Linked DNA regions of Homo sapiens: regions 2 and 3 are each linked to region 1. Evidence: promoter capture Hi-C in 16 types of primary human blood cells and fetal thymus (Javierre and others, 2016). All regions are on one chromosome and are shown on one strand. The core of a region is centred on a gene start or on the middle of the fragment in contact, and the rest is flanking DNA. Distances in the headings are between cores, read along the strand shown. Region 1 holds the start of SLC6A19 (solute carrier family 6 member 19). Region 2 has its middle 11 kb from the start of SLC6A3. Region 3 overlaps SLC6A3 (solute carrier family 6 member 3).

What was found. The method cuts DNA at HindIII sites, captures the fragments that hold promoters and counts their contacts. A CHiCAGO score of 5 or more calls a contact.
Region 2: a fragment that was not itself captured here is called in contact with the fragment with the promoter of SLC6A19 in region 1 in 2 of 17 cell types (naive CD8 T cells and non-activated CD4 T cells); the score reaches 5.2 in naive CD8 T cells.
Region 3: a contact is called between a fragment that was not itself captured here and the fragment with the promoter of SLC6A19 in region 1, in 1 of 17 cell types (non-activated CD4 T cells). The highest score is 5.3, in non-activated CD4 T cells.

Annotation. Positions count from the first base shown.
Region 1 is chr5:1,200,201-1,203,141 of GRCh38, forward strand. SLC6A19 (solute carrier family 6 member 19) reads left to right here and starts at 1,395. Exons shown (of 12, transcript NM_001003841.3): 1 at 1,395-1,652. The coding sequence starts at 1,451. The HindIII fragment of the contact is 15,195 bases long and covers 1-2,941 here.
Region 2 is chr5:1,454,848-1,457,788 of GRCh38, forward strand. No RefSeq gene overlaps it. Among named protein-coding and RNA genes, the nearest start is that of SLC6A3, 11 kb to the left of the region's middle. RefSeq lists an enhancer at 1,021-2,220. The HindIII fragment of the contact is 2,497 bases long and covers 273-2,769 here.
Region 3 is chr5:1,420,029-1,422,969 of GRCh38, forward strand. It overlaps SLC6A3 (solute carrier family 6 member 3), which reads right to left. Exons shown (of 15, transcript NM_001044.5): 5 at 1,848-1,986; 6 at 541-675. Among named protein-coding and RNA genes, the nearest start is that of SLC6A3, 24 kb to the right of the region's middle. RefSeq lists an enhancer at 2,642-2,941. The HindIII fragment of the contact is 7,423 bases long and covers 1-2,941 here.

The sequences.
Region 1 (2,941 bases), core at 145-2,644:
ATGCCTGCCGGGAAGGCCCCGGCTATGGAAGGAGCCATGTGGGCAGTGGGGGCAGGGGGCCAGCGAGGGCCCCCAGGGAGGTGAGCCCAGAGGCTGAAGGAGGCAACGGGAGGAAGGCCTGGGGAGGCGCAGGGTGTGGCACCGTCCCTGGCCTCAGGAAGGCTGGTCCGGGATTCCAGAGCTTGAGGTCTCCTAGATGGGAGAGACGTGAGGGGAGGCCCAAGTGGGGGCCCAAACGGGCAGCGCCCGACAGAGGATGGCCTCCAACTCCCTGTGCGGAAAACCAGGAGAGAATCCCACTCTGGCTTTGGAGACACAACCCCCAGGATCCTCTCCTGAACTCCCCGCAACGTTCCTCCTGCCCCTCCTGGACCCCGTGGTCAGCCCTGTGGCTTCCCTGCACGGCCTCTTTGCTGGGGAGCAGGAACACCATCTCCTTCGCTGTCCCATGCCCGGCACAGGACTGCCCCCCACAAAGTGCTCCACAGAAGGACAGAAACCGTGCAGTCACCGGGAAGGTGGGGATCTGGGGTGGCTGCAGGTTCCATGACACAGGACCCTCCATCCCCCGTGACCCCAGAGGGCCCTTGGGGACGAGGCTGCCCTAGAGGGTGGCTCTGGGTCCTGAACCTATGGCCGGGAGCTGAACTCCTCCTGCTCGATGTTCTCCAGCTCAGCCAGGGATGGGATCCGGGCATCCAGGCTGGGGTTGGGCAGCGTGAGCTGTTCATTATGAAGTTCATTACGAACCCCAGAATGAAACTGTGGCCCAGGGGGCACAGCCACGGGAACCCCACTCTCAGGTTGATTCAGGCCACATCCCAAGGAGCCGTGGTTCCGTGGGGACTGGTGGGAAGCCGGGCCCCCGAGCAGCCGTCTAGAGCCCAGAGCCAGGCTGGAGGGGTCCAGGGCCTCGCTGTGCTTGGTGTGAGCAGACCAAGAGCTGCCCCAGGGCCCCTGCTCCCGCTGAGTTCCCTCTCCCTGGACTGGGGTGGGGGCCGGGGATGCCTGTGCTCCAGGGAGCTGTGGAGAGGCCCACCCGGCGTCCTGCAGGTGGGGGTGTGCGGCAGCCAGGGGCTCCCAGACCGGGGCAGAGCCAGCATCCTGTTTGCCTTGGTTCTTTCTCCCCGGGGTGCACCGGCGTTTGTACGCATTTGTGTGTGCGTTTGTGCAGGGGGAGGGGTGGCCAGCGCCCACGGAGCAGCCTCCGGTTGCCCGAAGGCAGTGGGTGGCTCTGCTGGCCCCGGGGCCGGGCGTCTCTGCAGATAAGGCATTAACAGTCCCTCCGCAGACGCACCCTGCAGATCTGCTGACGACTGGCTCCGTTCTGCCCAGGTGCCTGGGGCGAGGTGCCAAAGGTTCTCTATAAAGTGCCCGGCTCCCGGCCCACGGCCACTCGCCCTCCAGCTTCTGCCCTGCCTGCTGTGTGCGGAGCCGTCCAGCGACCACCATGGTGAGGCTCGTGCTGCCCAACCCCGGCCTAGACGCCCGGATCCCGTCCCTGGCTGAGCTGGAGACCATCGAGCAGGAGGAGGCCAGCTCCCGGCCGAAGTGGGACAACAAGGCGCAGTACATGCTCACCTGCCTGGGCTTCTGCGTGGGCCTCGGCAACGTGTGGCGCTTCCCCTACCTGTGTCAGAGCCACGGAGGAGGTAGGCTGGCCGGGCGGGGCTGCGGGCGAGGCCGTGGCCAGGGAAGCACAGACACACGCAGAGGCCCTGGGCAGACATCCTCCCCGGACCCTCGGCTCCCCAAGCACGGAGGGGAGAGGAGAAGCCGCAGGGTGTGGGGGGAGCTGGGGCCCCCACGGGCCCCCGTGCCCGGTTCCTAGGCTGCTGGTGAGGAGATGGGCCTGGCCGGCACGACCCCAAGACTTCGTGTGGGGCTCCAGGGAGGGCCCTGTGTTCCAGACTGGCAGTCCTGGAACGTTCTGGCCTGAGGGTGGGGCCGGGGGAAGGGTGTTTCTCCCGGTACAGCCCCTCCTCGGAGGACGCGGGGCTGGGCCCTCCTGGGCATCACCTCTCGTCCCAGCCCCACAGGCGGACACCTGCCAGTGCAGGGAGCAGAGGAGGTAGCTGGGTTGGGGGCAGGTGACCCTAGAGGAGCAGAGTGGGTAGCCGGAGCCTGTGGACTCGGGCCTGGCTCTTGAGCCAGGTGCCCTCAGGCCTGGAGGCCGGGAGCCGCTGTGCCCACCCAACACACAAGCCTGACTGCTCCTCGTTCCTCTGGCTCCTGCGGCCCAGGTAGGCATGGCCGCTGCTGGCACAGAGGTGACATTTGTGTTCCTGCCCAGTGGTCCTGAGCATCTGAGAAGTGGCTCCCAGGCCTGGCAGGGGGCTGTACCTAGGACCCCCACACTTGAACTCAGCCTTGGGCTTGGCGAACCCCAAAGCTGCTGCCCTCATAAACCTGCTGCTTTCTCAGCGGAAGGTCCAGGAGGGCCGGGCACCCTTGGGAAACAGGCTTCCTGCTGCCCTGGGGCAGTTCACGGGGGGGCCGTGAAGGTCTCAGCCTCCGTTTAGAGGAGTCTGCCCTCAGGGGGCCCTGTTCCTTCTCACCATGGAGAGCTGCTGTCTCTCACGCGGGCTTTGTGATGTGAAGGTTTTTAAAGAAAAACAGAAATGGGCTTTTCCTGAATCAGTTTCGCCTCCAGCATTGTCAAGGAGTTGATCACTGCCTTGCGGGGGTGGGCGCTTCATGAGCCTCTGGTCCAGCCTGCACTTTCCACTGGAGGCAGGTCGGGGGACCTTGGCCACTCCGATACTATAGTCCCTGACAGTCCCCAAGTCTCAGCTCACCAAAGCCTCAGGGGACTTCCTGGCCACTGTCCTCGCCCCCTCCCCCAGGGCCCTATCCTGTGGGGAGGATCCCTGCGCTCACCCACACCCTGAGTTTGTTTAGCTTGGAGGAGAAACTGAGTCACAGGCTCACATCCCCACTG
Region 2 (2,941 bases), core at 271-2,770, 250 kb after region 1:
TGTAACTACATTTTTCCCTGATAGTTATATCAGTTACTAAGAGATCTATGTTAAAATCTCCAACTATGTTTGCAGATTTATTTCTCCTTTAAATCCTGTCATTGATGCTTAATATATTTAAGCTATGTGATTAGATACATGCACTTTTAAACATTGTGTCTTCCAATTGAATTGAACTTTTATCATCATGAAATGTCTGTCTTTAACTCTGCTAATTCTCCTAGTCTCTAAAGTACACTTAGTATGACAATCTTGCCAAATAAACTTTCTTAAGCTTCTGTTTGCATGTTATAAATATATTTCCTATTCTTTTACTTTCTTACCTTTTTGTTTTGTTTTTTTATGAGACAGAGTCTTGCTGTGTCACCCAGGCTGGAGTGCAGTGGCGCAATCTCAGCTCACTGCAACCTCTGCCTCCAGGGTTCACGTGATTCTCCTGCCTTAGCCTCCCAAGTAGCTGGGACTACAGGCATGTGCCACCACGCCCAGCTAATTTTTTTGCATTTTTACTAGAGATGGGGTTTCACCATGTTGGACAGGCTGGTCTTGACCTCCTGACCTCAAATGATCTACCTGCCTCGGCCTCCCAAAGTGCTGGGATTATAGGCAGGAGCCACTGTGCCCAGTCTATTCTTCTACTTTCAATCTATATTTAAACAGCATATAGTTAGGTATTTTATTTTTTATTTAGTCCAACAAATGTCATTTAGGAGTTTTTAGTCTATGTTTAATGTAACTACTAATATGATTGGATTTAAATTTACCGTTTTGCTATTTGTTATCTATCTCTATTCTCTGTCCTTTGTTCTTTCCCTCCCACCTTCCTTCTTAGTTTGGGTAAAATTTACATTTATATTAGTTATACTTCTTTGGTTCTGTTTTCTATGGGAGGGGGTCTTACTATGTGTATTTTTTTTTTAGATGAAGTTTTGCTCGGTCACCTCAGGCTGGAATGCAATGGCACCATATCAGCTCACTGCAACCTCCACCTCCAGGGTTCAAGAGATTCTCCCACGTCAGCCTCTCAAGTAGCTGGGATTACAGGTACCCACCATCATGCCCAGCTAATTTTCATACTTTTAGTAGAGATGGGGTTTTACCATGTTGGCCACAAGGTCTCCTGACCTCAGATGATCCACCCACTTCAGGCTCCCAAAGTGCTGGGATTACAGGCGTGAGCCACCATGCCTGGCCACTATGTGTATTTTTAACTTACCACAATCTACCTTCAAATGCCAAATTTCTGCATGGTATTCTCTTATTTCTGCCTGTAGAACTCTGAACATTGTTGGTCATTATGAACTACTGGCAGTGAATTATCTCAGCTTTTGCTGATTTCAAAATGTTTCTATTATGCCTTGATTTTTAAAAGATGTTTATTTTAGCATAGAATTCCAGGGTGGCCGCATTCGTCTTTAGTCTCTTTGAAGATGTCATCAGTCATCTGGATTGCATAGTTTCTGCAGAGAAGTCGGCTGTCGTTCTTATCTCTGTTCCTTGACGTCTGGGTTGCATAGTTTCTGCAGAGAAGTCGGCTGTCGTTCTTATCTCTGTTCCTTGACGTCTGGGTTGCATAGTTTCTGCAGAGAAGTCGGCTGTCGTTCTTATCTCTGTTCCTTGACGTCTGGGTTGCATAGTTTCTGCAGAGAAGTCGGCTGTCGTTCTTATCTCTGTTCCTTGACGTCTGGGTTGCATAGTTTCTGCAGAGAAGTCGGCTGTCGTTCTTATCTCTGTTCCTTGACGTCTGGGTTGCATAGTTTCTGCAGAGAAGTCGGCTGTCGTTCTTATCTCTGTTCCTTGACGTCTGGGTTGCATAGTTTCTGAAGAGAAGTTGGCTTTCATTCTTATCTCTGTTCCTTGATAGTATGTTGTTTTTCTCCAGCTGCTTTTAAGATTTTTCTCCTTTTCAGTGGCTTTCAGCAGTTTGTGATGTGTGTCTTGCTGTGTTTTTATTGTATTTTTTCTGCTGGGTGCTTATTGAGCTTCTTGGGTATCTTAGTTTATAGATTTGGAAAAAAATTCTGGCCATTATTTCATCAAATAATTTTTCTGTCCTGTCCTCCTCCTTTTCTAGGGCTCCAATCACATGTGATGGGCCTTGTGGCATTATTCCATGCCCACTTGTGCTTCATTTCTGTCTGTTTCTCCCTGTACATCACTGGGATCACACATAGCTGTATTTTCAGGTTCACTAATATTTTCTCTTGTCGGGTCTAATTTACTATAGTCTCTGCCAGGGTATGACACAGGCAGTGGATGTCAGCCTGTCTCTTTCCCAGCCAACCCAGTGTTTACCTAGTAGAACCATTCACAAACTGGCACTGGAAATAGGGATGGAGATGAGTGTGGATCAATAACAAAGAGCTGACCCATCAACAATAGCCTAGGCTGATGCAGTTATCACTGGACTCCCAACATGTCGGAAGCAGGGTCCCATACTTAGCCCCAGGTACCATTCCTGGGAAAGGGACTAGCCAGCCCCCTGGAGGCAGGTTGATCACACTGGACTCTTCCATCATTGAGGGGAGTATCTCTTGGTTTCAGTTTCCCTTATTCCAGATATGGATATGTCTTTGCTGTCAGTGTTTCTGACAGCACCATCTGTGGGCTTGATGAATGGCTTATTCACTATTGCCCACCTCCTATGGCATTGTTAAGGAATTTACTTTACAGCAAAGGCAGCATGGGAACAGGTACACACTTGGAATCCCTACGTTTCCCATCACCCAGAGGTGGCGAGTCTGATTAAGCATGAGGATGACTTCTTGAAGCTTTAGGTGTGCTGCCCATGGGGAGGCAGTGCCCTAGAACATTGGACTGCCATCCTGATGGATGACATAGTGCCTCGAACTGTGGACCAAGACATGGCACCATTTCATAGCCAGAATAATGTCTGTAATGTCAATGGGTGGAATTAGGACTGGCCCTGCTCACCACCACA
Region 3 (2,941 bases), core at 320-2,819, 220 kb after region 1:
CATACCCCAGCTGAGATGGCCCTTCCCCTCTTGCTGCATTGTCCTCCCACAGCAACATGGATGCCCCTGGGCGGCTTTGGGGCCTGCCACCTCCCCCACTTAGTCCACCTGATTTCCAACGATGCCCCAAGGGAGCTGCCATTTTTGTCATGCCAGCCTTCCGCCAACAGCTGCTTCTGTTTCTGGGCCTGTTTGCCAGGAAGGGTGCAGCCCTTTCTCCTCCCTTTCTGGACAAGGGTCCCATCCCCCATGGCCCAGCTGAGTCTCCTCTCTCCGGGAGGCTTTCTCCAAATATTTTAACCCTGAATTATGTCTTCTTTTGCTGACCAAAGCTGCAGCCTGAGTCTAGATGGAGTTTCTGATGTAATTTGATTTAGATGACTCGTGCTGTATCACAGGTACTTGGGATTTGGCTTCCCGAGGAAAGAACCCTGGTGTCTGCAACTCTGACACCTCTCAGCCCTGGCAGGCAATGCATATGGAAACCTGGGAATGCCAGAGCCCCTGTGGACTGTGAAGCAGTGAGCAGACTGTACTCACAGACGCCTCGCAGAGCCGGTAGAAGTCAACGCTCAGGTATGCTCTGATGCCGTCTATGGCTCCAGGGAGGGTGACCCCACGCAGGAGCAGGGCAGTGAGGACCACGTATGGCATGGTGGCTGTGATCCATACCACCTGCAGGAGAGGACAGTGTCACCAGGCTGCACAGGCAGGGCCCTTGGTGGGAGCAGACACTGGCACAAGGGCACCGGGTTGCCCTGACGGCTTGTCCTCTGATTGGGAGGCCCAATTCCCAAACATTTCCTGGGACGCCAGCTCAGCAAATGCTCCTTGGAGTGAGAAGGTCAGACACTTTCTGTCCTGCACACCCTCCCCAGGGATGGAAAGGGAAGAACAACTTGGCAGGGAAAGCACATTCCTTTTCTGCATTCGGTCCGCCAGAGTAGCTGGGAGTGGCTGATGGGGGTTTTCTGATGCGTGGGACGTGAGTGGATTCACACTGGTGAACGGCACTGTGGCACGATGAAGGGCTGCTCTGGGCTGTGTCCCTGCGGGAGGCTCCCGTGGCTGGTGCCATACTACACGCACTTTTCCAAGGGAGGAGTCGTATCTTGGTCAAAACTGGTTTTGGCCCATATAACAACCAAAGTTTTTTTTTTTTTTTTGAGATGGAGTTTTGCTCTTTTTGCCCAGGCTGGAGTGCAGTGGCATGATCTTGGCTCACTGCAACCTCCGCCTCCTGGGTTCAAGCAATTCTCCTGCCTCAGCCTCCCACGTAGCTGGGATTATAGGCACGTGCCACCGTGCCTGGCTAATTTCGTATTTTTAGTAGAGATGGGGTTTCATCATGTTGGCCAGGCTGTTCTTGAACCCCTGACCTCAGGTGATCTGCCCGTCTCAGCCTCCCAAAGTATTTTTATCAACAAAAAAATCATCTTGTGTGTGCCTTCCTGCCAGAAACACTGCTGTGAGTGCTTCCCTCCTGAGGCCCTTCCCCAAACACAGCCACACGTGGACCCAAAACCCAACTGTGCCGTGTGTCCGCCCAGCCCAGCCACGGCCACGTGTCCCCCCACCCACCCATGGCCGCGCGTCTACCCAAGCCAACCCGGCACAGCCACAGGTGTACCCTCAATCATGGCCACGTGTACACTCCCAACCTGATTATGGCCATATGAGTCTCCCAAACTCAACCATGGCCATGTGTCCACCCCAACCTGGCCATGGCCACATTGGTAGCACAAAACCCAACTGAGGCCACACGTGCACCTCCTGTCCAGCCACGGCCACATGTCCACTTGGTGGCCCCATGTCTACAGGCCCAATTGGTGACCCCCGAGCCTCACCTTCCCTGAGGTCTTCACGCCCTTCCAGAGGCTGAAGTAGAGCAGCACGATGACCAGCACCAGGCAGGCTGTGAGCTGCCACCGCGGAGGCCCCAGGTCGTCGATGCCATGGCTCTGGTGGAGGTGCAGCACGCCACGTCTGCAGAGGGGAGTCAGCGGGGGACTCTGTGGGTGGCTGTCAACCCACCTGGAACTGGACGGCTGAGCTTGTCCGGGGACCTGCCCTCCCCATCTCAGCAGGGCAGAAAGCATCCAGTCTGATGGACAAGAGATGCCTTCCAGGGAGGTCTGGCCCACAGGCCCTGGCAGAGGTGTCAGGGCCGCCCTTGAAACCCGTGGAGCACGTGGGAGGCCCAGGAAGCCCTGCCTCACCATCTGCCCTTGGCACCCCTGCTCACTGGAGCTGCGGAGGCGGAGGGCACCTTGGGTCTTTGAAGAAAAGGAGCCACAGAAACCAAAAGGAAGTTGCTGAGCAATGCTGGGTGCCCACCACTGCCCAGTGCTGCCCAAGGTGCTGGGTGCCCACCGCTGCCCACGGTGCTGCCCACGCTGCTGGGTACCCACCGCTGCCCACAGTGCTGCCCACGCTGCTGGGTGCCCACCGCTGCCCACAGTGCTGCCCACGCTGCTGGGTGCCCACCGCTGCCCACAGTGCTGCCCACGCTGCTGGGTGCCCACCGCTGCCCACAGTGCTGCCCACGCTGCTGGGTACCCACCGCTGCCCAGTGCTGCCCATGGTGCTGGGTGCCCACCGCTGCCCAGTGCTGCCCATGGTGCTGGGTACCCACCGCTGCCCAGTGCTGCCCATGGTGCTGGGTGCCCACCACTGCCCACAGTGCTGCCCACGGTGCTGGGTGCCCACCGCTGCCCAGTGCTGCCCAAGGTGCTGGGTGCCCACCGCTGCCCACAGTGCTGCCCACGGTGCTGGGTACCCACCGCTGCCCACAGTGCTGCCCACGCTGCTGGGTGCCCACTGCTGCCCAGTGCTGCCCATGGTGCTGGGTGCCCACCGCTGCCCACAGTGCTGCCCATGGTGCTGGGTACCCACCGCTGCCCACAGTGCTGCCCACGCTGCTGGGTGCCCACCGCTGCCC